2 separate regions of the Homo sapiens genome follow, and region 1 is linked to region 2. Evidence: promoter capture Hi-C in 16 types of primary human blood cells and fetal thymus (Javierre and others, 2016). All regions are on one chromosome and are shown on one strand. Each heading gives the region's core, a stretch centred on a gene start or on the middle of the fragment in contact. The rest is flanking DNA. Distances are from core to core; before and after follow the strand shown. Region 1 holds the start of TMEM160 (transmembrane protein 160). Region 2 holds the start of DACT3-AS1 (DACT3 antisense RNA 1).

What was found. Contacts are between HindIII fragments. The CHiCAGO score rates a contact against its expected background, and 5 or more counts as called.
Region 1: the fragment with the promoter of TMEM160 here is called in contact with the fragment with the promoter of DACT3-AS1 in region 2 in 1 of 17 cell types (activated CD4 T cells); the score reaches 5.1 in activated CD4 T cells.

The regions. Positions count from the first base shown.
Region 1 is chr19:47,045,469-47,052,366 of GRCh38, forward strand. It overlaps TMEM160 (transmembrane protein 160), which reads right to left and starts at 3,156. Exons shown (of 3, transcript NM_017854.2): 1 at 2,939-3,156; 2 at 1,125-1,217; 3 at 441-784. The coding sequence starts at 3,146. The coding sequence ends at 519. NPAS1 (neuronal PAS domain protein 1) reads left to right here. Exons shown (of 12, transcript NM_002517.4): 12 at 1-307. The coding sequence ends at 183. RefSeq lists enhancers at 2,584-2,653, 3,163-3,457, 3,581-4,098, 4,099-4,616 and a silencer at 2,934-3,123. The HindIII fragment of the contact is 7,920 bases long and covers 1-4,088 here.
Region 2 is chr19:46,656,928-46,663,623 of GRCh38, forward strand. DACT3-AS1 (DACT3 antisense RNA 1) reads left to right here and starts at 3,437. Exons shown (of 3, transcript NR_040042.1): 1 at 3,437-3,481. DACT3 (dishevelled binding antagonist of beta catenin 3) reads right to left here and starts at 4,255. Exons shown (of 4, transcript NM_145056.3): 1 at 3,889-4,255. The coding sequence starts at 4,137. RefSeq lists silencers at 4,053-4,302, 4,513-4,632. The HindIII fragment of the contact is 2,055 bases long and covers 2,293-4,347 here.

The DNA of each region.
Region 1 (6,898 bases), core at 1,906-4,405, 390 kb after region 2:
CCGGTGGTGCGGGGCCTGTGCACACCCGGCACCATCCGCTACGGCCCCGCGGAGCTGGGCCTGGTGTACCCGCACCTGCAGAGGCTGGGTCCGGGCCCCGCGCTCCCGGAGGCCTTTTACCCGCCCCTGGGCCTGCCCTACCCGGGGCCCGCGGGCACCAGGCTGCCGCGGAAGGGGGACTGAGGACTGGCAGAGCTGCCGGCGCCGGACCCTGCGACAACCGGGGTCCCCCAGGACAGTAGGCCCGGCTCTGCCCGTAGCCCTGAGAATTAAACGCCGGCTCTCCCTGCAGTGGTTTGGGCTCCGGGCTGTGAGCTCCTCTGTCCATTTCTGTCTCCCCCGGGTCCTCACCCCCCTCTCCCTCCACCCGCCCTCCTGCCTCTCCAGTTAGTCCGCTCCTCGCCGCCCTTCCCAAGGAACACGAACCAATACTCTGCATCTGGAGGAGGGGAGGTCAGGTTTAATGTCCCAGTCCTCGGGCGCTGTCCAGCGCCTGCCAGGCCCCACGGCCGTGTCGCTCACTCGGGTGGCGGCCGACCCGCCTCATCAGGGCCTTCCGCGGAGGCCGTCCCGTCGTCCTCGGGCACCAGCTCCACGTCCAGCTCCAGCTGCCCCATGTAGAGGCCCACGGCGCACGCCCAGAGCAGGCTGGCGGCCAGCACGGCGCCCGCGCCCACGGCCGCGCCCCCCAGCGTCAGCTGCATGGGTCCTCGCAGCGCCGCCAGGCCCACGGCGTACGAGGCGCTGCCCCACACCACGCACAGGCCGCCCAGCAGGAAGAAGCCTGCGGGAGAGGCAGGGTAGCAACAGGGCCAAGGTCGGGGGATGGTCTGGGAGCAAAGCCAGGGTTGAGGAGACAGGAACAGAGGCAGGGCCGTGCCAGGGGCTAGCCTGCATCTTTGAGAATCAGATCGGAGGGGAGGGGACCATAACCATGTCCTGGGCCACCCATTCAGATGGACCTAGTGCCTATGGGAGGGGTGTCTTCTGGTGGGGGAAGAATGGGGGTTCTATACTTACTACTGGGAGTGGGATGGGGTAGGAGAGTCTACTCTCACCAGGGCAGGTGATAGGGGCTCTGCATTCCCTGGTTCCGTGGGGCGAGAGGGGGGGTCTGCACTCACCATATGCTGCTTCCCGACCCATGTCACTCTGCATGAAGGAGATGACCCCGATGCCCGATGCCAGGAGGCCATTGCGGAACCAGGAGAGGAAGGCTGGAGGGAGGGGGACATGGGGGGATTAACATCACCCCCAACCCTACCTCCTCAATCCCCCTTACCCAGTCAAACTGAGGGGCCTCCCTTCAGCTCACCCCATCCCATCCAGCCGCAAGGCAAGCCCATCCCAAATCCTCACCTCTTCCAGGAAGCCGCTCACCTAACCATATCCCCCCACATCCTCTCTGGCCTCCACCTCAGTGCCCCTCTCCCCCAAACTCTGTAACACTAAGGATTCAAGGGCCGGGTGTGGTGGCTCACCCCTGTAATCCCAGCACTTTGGGAGGCCAAGGCAGGCGGATCATGAGGTCAGGAGTTTGAGACCAGCCTGGCCAACATAGTCAAACCCTGTCTCTACTAAAAATGTTAAAATTAGCAGGGTGTGGTAGCACGTGCTTGTAGTCCCAGCTACTCAGGAAGCTGAGGGAGGAGAATCACTTGAATCCAGGAGGTAGAGGTTGCAGCGAGCCAAGATCATGCCACTGCACTCCAGCCTGGGCGACAGAGTGAGACTCCGTCTCAAAAAAAATAAAGGATTCAAGATAGTCCCTGCAGAATGTGGAGGACAATCTAGGGGCAAAGTTGCAGAACCTCCATCTGAGGAGTCATCTTGGCCAAACCCCTCCCTCTACGTGTACCCCCACGGCCTGCCCACTCACTTCTTTCTCAGAACTCTGGGACAAACTGTTTCCTAATCCAGGCCGCTCTTCAGCCTCGCCCTTCTTTTCCTTCAAATGCCGCCATCTCCTACCGAGTATGGCCTGGGCCAATCCCATCCATGTCCTACCGAGTATGGCCTGGGCCAATCCCACCCACGTCCGTCCCCATTCACGTCCTTTACAAACAGCCCACCACACCCTATATCTAGATGCCCGGTCCTGGCCTAGTGAGGTGACTCACACCTATAATCCCAGCACTTTGGGAAGCCAAGGCAGGAGGATTCTCTGAGCCCAAGAGTTCAGACCAGCCTGGGCAACAAAGCAAGACCCCGTCTCTACATAAATTAAAATAGTTGGGTGCGGTGGTGTATGCCTGTAGCTCCAGCTAAGCAGGAGGCTGAGGCAAGAGGATAGCTTGAGCCCAGGAGTTCAAGGCTGCAGTGGGCTACGATTGCGCCACTGCGGTCCAGCCTCGGTGACAGAGCAAGACACCGTCATTAAAAAAATAAAATTAAAAAAAAAACAAACATGGCCAGTCCGCTCCATTCTGGACCTCGCCTCCGTCACAAGCCCCGCCCTCTGCAGCCTAGATCACCTCCCCCTCCAATCAGCAGAGAGCTTTCTCCCGATTGGTTGTCCCCTTCTCCAATCCTGAACTTCCCCCTCTTCTGCGGGGATCCACACTCCCGCTCTCTGCACAGTGGTGGCCTCTGCAATCGGGATGGACCCATCTTGTACCCAACTCCACAGACCCTAAGCTCTCCCTGAAGCCCCTCTCCCCACGGCAGGCGCGATTCTACGAGGCTGCCTCGCGCAACCCTACCACCCCCTCCAATCCCTACGGCGCCCCGTTACCCGGGGTCCTCGTCCTCCCCGCAAGCCCATCCCCTCTGCGGGCACCTGCGCTCTTGCAGTCTGCGCTTCCGTGCGCTCACACTGAAGCCCTTCTCGGAGCCGAGCCCGGGCCCCGTTTCCTGCAGAAGCCCCCGCCCCATCAAGGTCCCACGCGAGCCCGGGACCCCCGTCCCATCCGCACCGCCCCCACCCCTAGCCACCGACCTGTCTCGTGCGCTTTTCGGAGGAGCCAGGCGTCCGCACGATCCAGCTCGGACACTGGGGGCGGCGAAGCCCCGGCGCGGGGACCGTGGCCGGGGGCGAAGGACCCCCGGGCGCCCCCGCTCCGGGGCCGCTGAGGCGGCAGTAGCGACCTCCGGAAGCGAAGACGGGCAAGGCGAGCGGCCCGAGCCCACCACCAGCCGCCTCCCATGATTCGCACTACGGCCGCCGCGCGCCGTACCGCCCCACCGGCCTCCGGTAGGTTGCAACCCATGTCACTCAGGATGAATGGCTTACCCATTGGCTATGCGCTCGCCACTCAGGTCCGGCGTGAACTGTCCATTGGTCGGAATGGCAGTGATTCCCTCCTCTGTCATCTAGGCCGGTAGTGCCCGTCCCTCCTTGATTTTGTACCGGACTACGAATCCCAGCGATCATTGCGCTCGGGGAAAGCCGATATTCAGAAGTCGCAGGCGAGATGTCTGCTGGGAATTGTAGTTTTAATTCTATCTTTTTTAACGGAGTACATGCCGAGCACCTATTGTAGTTGTTTCTTGGTTGTTTCTCTTTCTTTCTTTCTCTTTCTTTCTTTCTTTCTTTTTCTTTCTTTCTCTTTCTTTCTTTCCTTCTTTCTTTCTTTCTCTCTTTCTTTTTCCCTCCCTCCCTCCCTTCCCTCCCCTCCTTCCTTCCTTCCCTCCTTCCTTTTTTTTCCCCGCCCCGAGACCGAGTCTTGCTCTGTCGCCCAGGCTGGAGTGCAGTGGTGCGATCTCGGCTCACTGCAACCTCCACCTCCCGGGTTCAAGCGATTCTCCTGCGTCAGCCTCCTGAGTAGCTGGGATTATAGGCATGCGCCACCACGCCCAGCTAATTTTTGTATCTTTAGTAGAGACAGGGTTTCACCATGTTGGCCAGGCTGGTCTCGAACTCCTGACCTCAAGTGATCCAACCGCCTCGGCCTCCAAAAGTGCTGGGATTACAGGCGTGAGCCACCGTGCCCGGCCAGGTCTGTCTCTTTAAGACAGATTTGTTTTCTTTGCCCTAACCCATTCCGGGATTCAGCTTTGCCTTCTCTCATCAGCATAAACCTTTTCACTAGCCAGGAATGTGAAAAATGTGTCTGGAATATTTTCAATTTGCACTTAATCCCATTTAAAGCTTCACATTCATTGCAAGCCTGCAGGCTATGCAGTGCAGTCCATTTGAACTCCCTCCTCAAGTGTAACCCCCTTGCTAGCTCCCCTACTTTTCCTCTTCATAAAATCCAAGCCCGGGCCAGGCACGGTGGCTCACATCTGTAATCCCACCACTTTGGGAGTCTGAGGCGGGCAGATCACGAGATCAGGAGTTCGAGACCAGCCTGACCAACATGGTGAAACCCCATCTCTACTAAAAATACAAAAATTAGGCATGGTGGCAGGCACCTGTAATCCCAGCTACTTGTGAGGCTGAGGCAGGAGAATCGTTTCATGCGCGTCCATGTGAAGAGACCACCAAACAGGCTTTGTGTGAGCAAGATGGCTGTTTATTTCACCTGGCTGCAGGCAGGCTGAGTCCGAAAAGAGAGTCAGCAAAGGGTGGTGGATTATCATTAGTTCTTAGAGGTTTTGGGATAGGCGGTGAAGTTAAGAGCAATGTTTTGCGGGCAGGGGTGGATCTCACACAGTACATTCTCAAGGGTGGGGAGAATTACAAAGAACCTTCTTAAGGGTGGGGGAGATTACAAAGTACATTGATCAGTTAGGTGGGGCAGGAACAAATCACAATGGTGGAATGTCATCAGTTAAGGCTATTTTTACTTCTTTTGTGGATCTTCAGTTACTTCAGGCCATCTGGATGTATACGTGCAAGTCACAGGTGATGCGATGGCTTGGCTTGGGCTCAGAGGCCTGACATTTCTGCCTTCTTTTATTAATAAGAAAAATAAAACAAAATAGTGTTGAAGTCTTGGGGGGTGGTATGGAGAGAGAATGGGCGATGTTTCTCGGGGCTGCTTCAAGCAGGATTAGGGGCGGCGTGCGAACCTAAAGTGGGAGAGATTAAGCTGAAGGAAGATTTTGTGGTAAGGGGTGATATTGTGGGGTTGTTAGAAGAAACATTTGTTGTGTAGAAGTATTGGTGATGGCCTGGGTACAGTTTTGTATGAATTGAAAAACTAAATGGAATAAGAGAAGGAGAAAAACAGGTATAAAAGGTCTAAGAATTGGGAGGACCTAGGACATCTGATTAGAGAGTGCCTAAGGAGATTCAGCATAGTCCTGCCAGCAAAGATTATTTGTTTACTTCAGGAGTTAAGAGTGGCAGTTTGGGGATAGCATGAGGAGATATCAGCTGTGATGGCTTGGAGAAACAGTGTAAACCAGCAGTGTAAACAAGAGCAGGGCACGTATGAGTAGTTGAGAACGGAGAATAGGAGTATGACTAGACAGAAAATAGTAGGGATGACAAGTTTTTTTGGGGCACAGTCTAAGTTGGTCCGGTGTCTGGAATGAGACTGGGGCCTAATAAAAAGGATTGTCCATACAGGAGCTCAAATAGGCTGTACCCTGCAGCATTCTGAGAAGCAAAAGAGGTAAAAGTATTGTCCAGTCCTTTTTAAGTTGGTGGCTGAGCTTGGTGAGGTGTGTTTTTAAAAGACCTTTAGTCCGTTCTACTTTTCTTGAAGACAGAGGACCGTAAGGGATATAAAGGTTTCACTGAATACTAAGAGCCTGAAAAACTGCTTGGCTGATTTGACTAATAAAGGCTGGTCTGTTATCAGACTGTATAGAGGTGGGAAGGCTAAACTGAGGAATTATGTCTGACAGAAGGGAAGAAATGACTGCGGTGGCCTTCTCAGACCTTGTAGAAAAGGCCTGTACCTATCCAGTGAAAGTGTCTGCCTAGACTAAGAGGTATTTTGGTTTCCTGACTCGGGGCATGTTGAGTAAAGCTAATTTGCCAGTCCTGGGTGGGGGCAAATCCCTGAGCTTGATGTGTAGGGAAGGGAGGGGGCCTGAATAATCCCTGAGGAGTAGTAGAACAGCAGATGGAACACTGAGAAGTGATTTCCTTGAGGACAGATTTCCACGATGGAAAGGAAATGAGAGGTTCTAAGAGGCGGGCTCATGGCTTGTACTATAGCATAGCCTGCCTTTGCTGGTGTGTGGCGATTAGGCCTGGTGGAACTGCCATCAATAAATCAAGCGTGATCAGAGTGAGGAACAGGAAAGAAGGAAATATGGGGAAATGGGGTGAATATCAGGTGGATCAGAGAGATACAGTCATGGGGGTCAGGTGTGGTATCAGGAATAATGTGGGAGGCCAGATTGAAGTCCGGGCCAGGAACAATGGTAATTGTGGGACTTAAGAGTGAGTGCAGCTGAAGGAGCCGGGGAGCAGAAAGTACATGCGTCAGGTATGAGGAAGAAAATAGATTTTGGAAGTTATGAGAAATGTAGAGAGTGAGTTGAGCATAGTTTGTGATTTTTAGGGCTCTAAAAGTATTAAAGCAGCGGCAGCCGCTGCATGCAGACATGAGGGCTAGGCTAAAACAGTAAGGTCAAGTTGTTTGGACAGAAAGGCTACAGGGTGCGGTCCTGGCTCTTGTGTAAGAATTCTGACCACACTAACCATGCCTAGGAAGGAAAGGAGTTGTTTTGTAAGGGATTGAGGTTTGGGAGATTAATTGGACACGATCAGCAGGGAGAGCACGTGTGTTTTTATGAAGAATTATGCTGAGATAGGTAACAGATGAGGATGAAATTTGGGCTTGACTGAAGTAATGGGGGCTGTCTGTGAAGCCTTGCGGCAGTACAGCCCAGGTAATTTGCTGAGCCTAATGGGTGTCAGGGTCAGTCCAAGTGAAAGCGAAGAGAGGCTGGGATGACGGGTGCAAAGGAATAGTAAAGAAAGCATGTTTGAGATCCAGAACAGAATAATGGGTTGTGGAGGGAGGTATTGAGGATAGGAGAGTATATGGGTTTG
Region 2 (6,696 bases), core at 2,187-4,686:
ATGTGGTGCTGCTGGCTAGGAGGCCACACTTTGACTGGCATAGTCTCTGGGACCTCACCCAAGAAACTAGAATTTGTAAAAAGCAAAGCTTTGACAAAAGCTCTACGTTTTTTGGTATGTAAACAGTTTCTGTTAGGAGATATGTTGGAAGAGGTCTGGGAGGTGACACTAAGGTGACAATGATGGTGACCTCAGGGGATAGGTTGGATTTAGGGGATCCAGGGAGGAATGAGGGGACTGGATGGTGGAAGGAAGTGTTTAAGGAGGCGTGACTTGGCATCACATTAAGCTCTGCTGCTCCCCAGCTGTGTGACCTTGGGTGGGTGACTTTACCTCTCTGGGCTTCAGTTTCCTTATCTATAACTGGGCATCATAGGACACCATCTCCTGGAGGTTATTGTGAGGATTAAATGAGTTTCTTTTTTTTTTTTTTTTTTTTTTTTTGAGACGGAGTCTTGCTCTGTCGCCCAGGCTGGAGTGCAGTGGCACAATCTCGGCTCACTGCAAGCTCCGCCTCCCGGGTTCACGCCATTCTCCTGCCTCAGCCTCCCGAGTAGCTGGGACTACAGGTGCCCGCCACCACGCCCAGCTAATTTTTTGTATTTTTAGTAGAGACGGGGTTCCACCACGTTAGCCAAGATGGTCTCAATCTCCTGACCTTGTGATCTGCCTGCCTCGGCCTCCCAAAGTGCTGGAATTACAGGCGTGAGCCACCGCGCCCGGCCAATGAGTTTCTTTTGACACATAATAAATGCCAGTTTGTATGATTACAGGAAAGCTATGAATTTCTTATAAGGAAAATAGAAAATGTTTCCATTGTTTAATTAAAAATAAATGTAGGTGTCGGGCGCAGTGGCTCACGCCTGTAATCCCAACAACTTTGGGAGACCGAGGCGGGAGGATCACTTGAGGCCAGGAATTCAAGACCAGCCTGGCCAACATGGTGAAAGCCCATCTCTACTAAAAATACAAAAATTAGCCAGGGGTGATGGTGCATGCCTGTAATTCCAGCTACTCGGGAGGCTGAGGCAGGAGAATTGCTTGAATCCAGGAGGTGGAGGTTGCAGTGAGCCGAGAATCACTTGAACCTAGGAGGTGGAGGTTGCAGTGAGCAGAGATTGTGCCATTGCACTCTGGCCTGGGTGACAGAGCAAGATTCTGTCTCAATGAATAAATAAATAAAGGCCAGGTACAGTAGCTCACACCTGCAATCCTAGTGCTTTGAGAGGCTGAGACAGAAGGATTGCTTGAGCCCAGGAGTTGGAGACCAGCCTGAACAACATAGCAAGACCTCATATCTTTAAAAAAAAAAAAAAAATTAGCCAAATGTGGCGGTGTGCACCTGTAGTCCTAGCTTCTTGGGAGGCTGAGGCAGGAGGATTGCTTGAGGCCAAGTTAGAGGCTGCAGTGAGCTATGATCGTGCCACTGCACTTCAGCCTGAGAGACTTTGTCTCCAAAAATAAATGAATAAATAAATATATCATTTAAAAATACATAAATAAACGTGAAAGGATAGACTTTTTGGTAAGTTCTGCCAAGTCTAATTCCGGTTCTTCCATTACAAGGAAGAGCAGAAATTAGGGAGACAGACAGGAGATGCCTCCTCCTCTCCAGCACCTAGACGCCCCCCAAAAATATTCCAAGTCTACACCCCTCTATTTGCAAGTCTGGCCTCATTCCTTCCAGTTGCAAAAGGATGAATCTTTAAAAGATTAGAAAGTCCTTGGCCTGAGTCTGGCTCTCTGCCTCCTCACGGTGCCCCTCATCCTTCCTCTGCAGGCTTAATAAGAGTGTGGTTAGGACCCCTGGAGACCCCTTTGCCCAAACTTCCCTTACCTTGTTTCTCCCCTCACGTGCCCCTCGTTGGTATCCAGTGCCCATTTATCTCTATTAGGAAGTCATTCTGCAAGTCTAACTTAAGTTATTCTTGATGAAAGGAACCTTTTTCCTTCTTGAGAGCAAGCAGGACCCAGGGAGCCCCTGCCCTCACCCAGGATTCCTGCCTCTCTTCTCTGCCACACCCCTGATCTTTACCTGGTATCCCCATCATTCCTATTAGAAAGTAATCAAGTCTGGCTTCAGTCTTTCTTGCCTTGAAGGAAGTGTATTCCTGGCAGGGGCTGGGGGTGGGGGGATAAGTCATAAGACAAGGGTTGGGGGATCAGAAGAAGCCCTAATCCACTCTTCAGAGGGACCCAGGAACCCCCAGCACTAGAGAAGTTTATATTTAGCGCTTCTCTGCTCCTCCTCCTCCCCCCGCCTGCCACCGCCTCCTCCCTGATGCTGGGACAAGCTTTGCCTAGAGACTGGGGGGTGGGGGGACAGGCCTCTCCACTATCAGCTCGTGCCGGGAGGACAGAGGGCTGAGGGGGAGGAGGGGACAGAGGGACCGAGGAGAGGGAGACTGAAGGGCAGAGATGGGGAAGGTGAAGGGTGAAAAGGGGAGAGACCGAGGGCAGAGGGGGAGAGGACACAGCTACCCACAGCTACCCCAACCTCATGCCTCGCATTCTCCTTGTCAGGATGGAAGGCGCCTTCCAAGCCGAGCCAGCTTGGGGTGGGGGGAGCTAGCGAAGGCCCCCACAATCCGTCTCTAACTTTGGGAGGGGGTGGGGCCTCCCACAGCTGTTTCTGTTTCCAGAAAAGAATGTGCAGGGGGGTCCCACTCCTGAGAGGGGGAGGGGCCGGGCGTGCAGCCCCGGGAGCCTGGCTTCAGTCTTCCTCCCCACTCCCCATCTGGGGAGGGGGCGGTCGAGGTCAGCGGCGGGGAGAGCCCCCTCCACTGCCACCTCGGCTCAGGTTTCCCGAAACGGGAAGCTCTGGCCACACACAGGCTTGGGGATGGGGATCTGCCGTGGAGCCAGGGTGTGCGGGCTGGGGGGAGGGGAAGACAGACTGAGCCTGGGACGTCGGGCAAGAAGAAGAGAGCGAGGTGCAGACAGGCAGGAAGGGAAGGCCAAGGAGACAGATGCAGAGGGACACAGAGATCACAGAGACAGAGAGACAGGATGAAGAAAGAGAAGCAGACACAGAAAGTCACAGGGATGTGGCAGGACGGAGAGAGTGACAGAACCCAGGACGAGATCGGGAGACTCAAGGAATGACATAGAAAGGGGAGAGGCATGGGGCGTCCTCAAGTCATTCCGGAGACCTCTGCCCATCTTCCACCATGAGAACACCCAGAGTCCAGAAGTCTCCCCCAGGCGCTGCCTCGACCTGCCTCCCCTTGGGTCAAGGAGAGCTGGGGCCAGGTAGGAAGCAGGGGAAGTGTCACCAAAGGGTCAAGATCCCAGTGGGGGGTCCTCAGGGACTGTGAGCTTCCTCTCAGCAGTGGTCCCTCCCTCTGGAGGCCCTGAGATTCCCCTCCTCCCACCCCGCCCCCTCCAGAGATCTCCAAGCACACCAGGACTTAGGGAAGATGGAGCCCTGGTGGCGGGGCCCAGAGAAGGGCATGTTTGGAGCCTGGCTGTGTCACCTTGGGTGAGTCGCTTGCTCTCTCTGAGCCTCAATTTGTTTCTCTGTTAAATGGGGACTATCACCCCGTTTCCCAAGCCGCAAGAAGACAACGCCTGCAAAGTACCCGGTCTCGGGTTTGACACATACTTGGCGCCCACAAGGATTTTCTTTGGGGAAGGGGTGTAAGAGACAGGGCCTGTGTTTCTCACGAGGCCCCAGTGGGGGCGATGCAGTTCCCCCTCCCCCGATTTGGGGGCGGGGAGGCCAGGTCCGGCCCGCCGCCGGAACTCCGGGGTCGCCAGCCCCACCCCCTGTCCTTTCTCACTCCCTGCCTACCCGGGTCCCCAACCCCCGCCCGGTGTCTGAGCATCCAACCGAGACAGACAGACACAGACGGGGGTGGAGGGACGGACGGACAGGCAGCCCCTTACCAGCTGCTCCTCCAGGGCCGCTGCGGCCCGGCGCGCCGCCGCCGCATCTTCATCCTCATCGGCGTCCTCCTCGTCCTCGGCCTCGGCGCCCCCCATTCCGGGCTGGGCCAGCCGCAGCGCCTGCTGCACGCGGTACTCCTGCCTCTCCCGGAGCCAATGTAACTCGCAGAGCCCGGCCAGGCTACCCTCCAGCCAGCCCCGCAGCCGGCCCCGCTCAGGGCTCACCGGGAACGAGAAGGCCCGGATCATGGCTGCGGCCCCCCGCCCCAGCCCGGCCGGGCCCCGCGGCCACCCCTCTCCCGGTCCCACCTCCCCGCCCCAGCAGCCTGCCCGCCCGCCCGCTGGCCGGGCTGTCACCGTCTCATCTGCATAGGCGCCCGCCCATTGGGCCGCCCACCCGCGCCTTATCTGCATGGCCACGCCCCCGGCGACCGAGCAACAGCCGCCTATTGGCGAATAAGCTTCCTGACGAAGACTCTCGGGCGTGCAACCGCACCGCCCAACACGACGCATGCTCGCAACTGCCTACTCACTCCGCTCGCCACGCCCCCTCCGTGCAACTGCCTCGGGGCCCTGGCCACGCCCCCCCACGCGTCACAATGAAACAAGCCCGCCCTTGCTTCAATGCCATTGGTCTGTGCCTGGCCGGTCCTGCAGCAGGTTCCACCCTCTTGCGGGCGAGCGCTGGCTACCATTGGACTGTCCGGCGCGAGGGGAAGGGTGATCTATAAATAGGGAATGGGTACACGTGACAGTTTGGCAGCTGCTCCTACCCCTCCACCCCGCCCAACCTTCAGCTTCTGAGGCTGCGCAGGGGGAGAAAAGGGTTAGGGGGTCGAGCCCTGACTTCGCCTCCTCTTCCAAGAAGCCTTCCCAGACACTCAGCTGTAAAACCAGACGGACGTCCTCCGATGAAATTGTTTCTACTTAGGGCCGGCTTCACCGGCTTGGAATCCACTTAGAAGGGTCTTCGCGCTTGGTTGAATGTTCTGCAATTTCTGTCTTGAAATTTTTAGTTTTTGAGCAAGGGGCCCCTTATTTTCACTTTGCACTAGGCCAAATATGTAGCCGGTCTTGCTGCTAAGAGTCTAAGATCGATTGCATTCCAAATTCTGGAATTATAAGACCCTGGGTGGAAGATTCTATGCTTTGACCAGAAGAGAGTCTAAGCAGCTTTTGTCTCCCAGGTGCTAGGAGGATGTGTGCTCATCATTCTTCCATTCCAGGGGCCTTTGTTCTACGTTCTAAGGGGCTTTGTTCTCAGCCTTCTATGATGCTCTATTCTCAACGTTCTCTGGTCCTAGGAGTCTGAGCCTGACATTCGTTTCCAAGGCTTCCTGCTGTCTCTCCAGGCTCCGCAAGCAGGGCTGGGGCACCCTCAGGCGGCCAATCTGTATCACTACGCCGAGCCTGCCTCTACCAACTTCCAAGACCTAGCTCTAATATTCATACTCATCTCTCAGACAGACCTTGGCTCCCTAAAAGCCAAGGCCCAGAAGATCATACAAGAAATTCCCTCTTTTATGATTCCCCGTGCACGAAGTGACCTTCTGGTGGTGAGATGGAGAGAAATTGATAGTGGCGATAGACAGCAAAGTCTCCAGGAGCCAGACTTCCTCGGGGTGAGTCACAGATCTGTCACTTTCCAGCTGTGTGACCTTGGAAAACTTACTTAACCTCTCTGTGCCACCGTTTCTTCATCTGATCACGGGATCATAATACTGGCTGCCTCATACAGTTGTTCTGAGGATTCAATGAAATGTATTAGGTACTTGGAGCAGTGTCTTCCATGGATTAAGAGCCACAGAAGGGTTTGACAAATAAGTTTAAAAACTAATCTAGTAAGTTTCCGGGGGGAAATGTCTTGAAATTTATTAGAGACAACCTTTATTCAGTCTTCCTCTTGTTCAAAATAGACTTAGAAAATTAGTCGGGTGTGGTGGTGCACACCTGTAGCCCCAGCTACTTGGGAGGCTGAGGCGGGAGGATCACTTGATTTCCTTTTTGACTTCTTGATGCTTTTATTAATGATGATGCCAAAAGATTTCTGGAGAATCAGCCAGGCGCAGTGGCTCACGTCTGTAATCCCAGTACTTTGGGAGGCTGAGGCGGGCAGATCACCTGAGTTCAGGAGTTCAGATCAGCCTGGCCAACATGGCGAAACCCCATCTGTACTAAAAATACAAAAATTAGCTGGGCATGATGGCACACACCGAGACTGTGGCACTGCACTCCAGCCTGGGTAACAGAGGGAGACTCCGTCTCAAAAAAAGAAAGAAAGAAAGAAATTGAGAGAGAGAGAGAGAGAAAGAAAGAAAGAAAAAGAAAGAGAGAGAGAAAGAAAGATAGATGTCTGGAGAATCAACAAGCAACAGTTGCTTCCAAACATGGCACACAAACTGGATATGGTGGCATGTACCTGTAGTGCGAGCTACTCAGGAGGCTGAGGCAGGAGGATCACTTGAGCCTGGGAGGCTGAGGCTACAGTGAGCCATGATTGCACCATTGCACTCCAGCCTGGGTGACAGAGCAAGACCCAATCTTTAAAAAAAAAAAAAAAAATTGTGATTACAGAGACTGAGTCCCATGCAGGGGCTGTTAATGAAGTTGCAGAAGCTCATAGACCTTGATTTATAGATGGTAGGGATGGGAAGAGGTTCCCATAAAAATCGAGTGGTGCGTTGGGAGAGGCCTTTGAGGAAGGCGTGTAGGGCACAGTGCTCCATCCAAAGGCTTTGGTGGTGCGAGTGAAGGGGATGGGGCCCTGGGAGTAGTGATTTGTGCTGAGAAAGGGGAACAAAACTGACA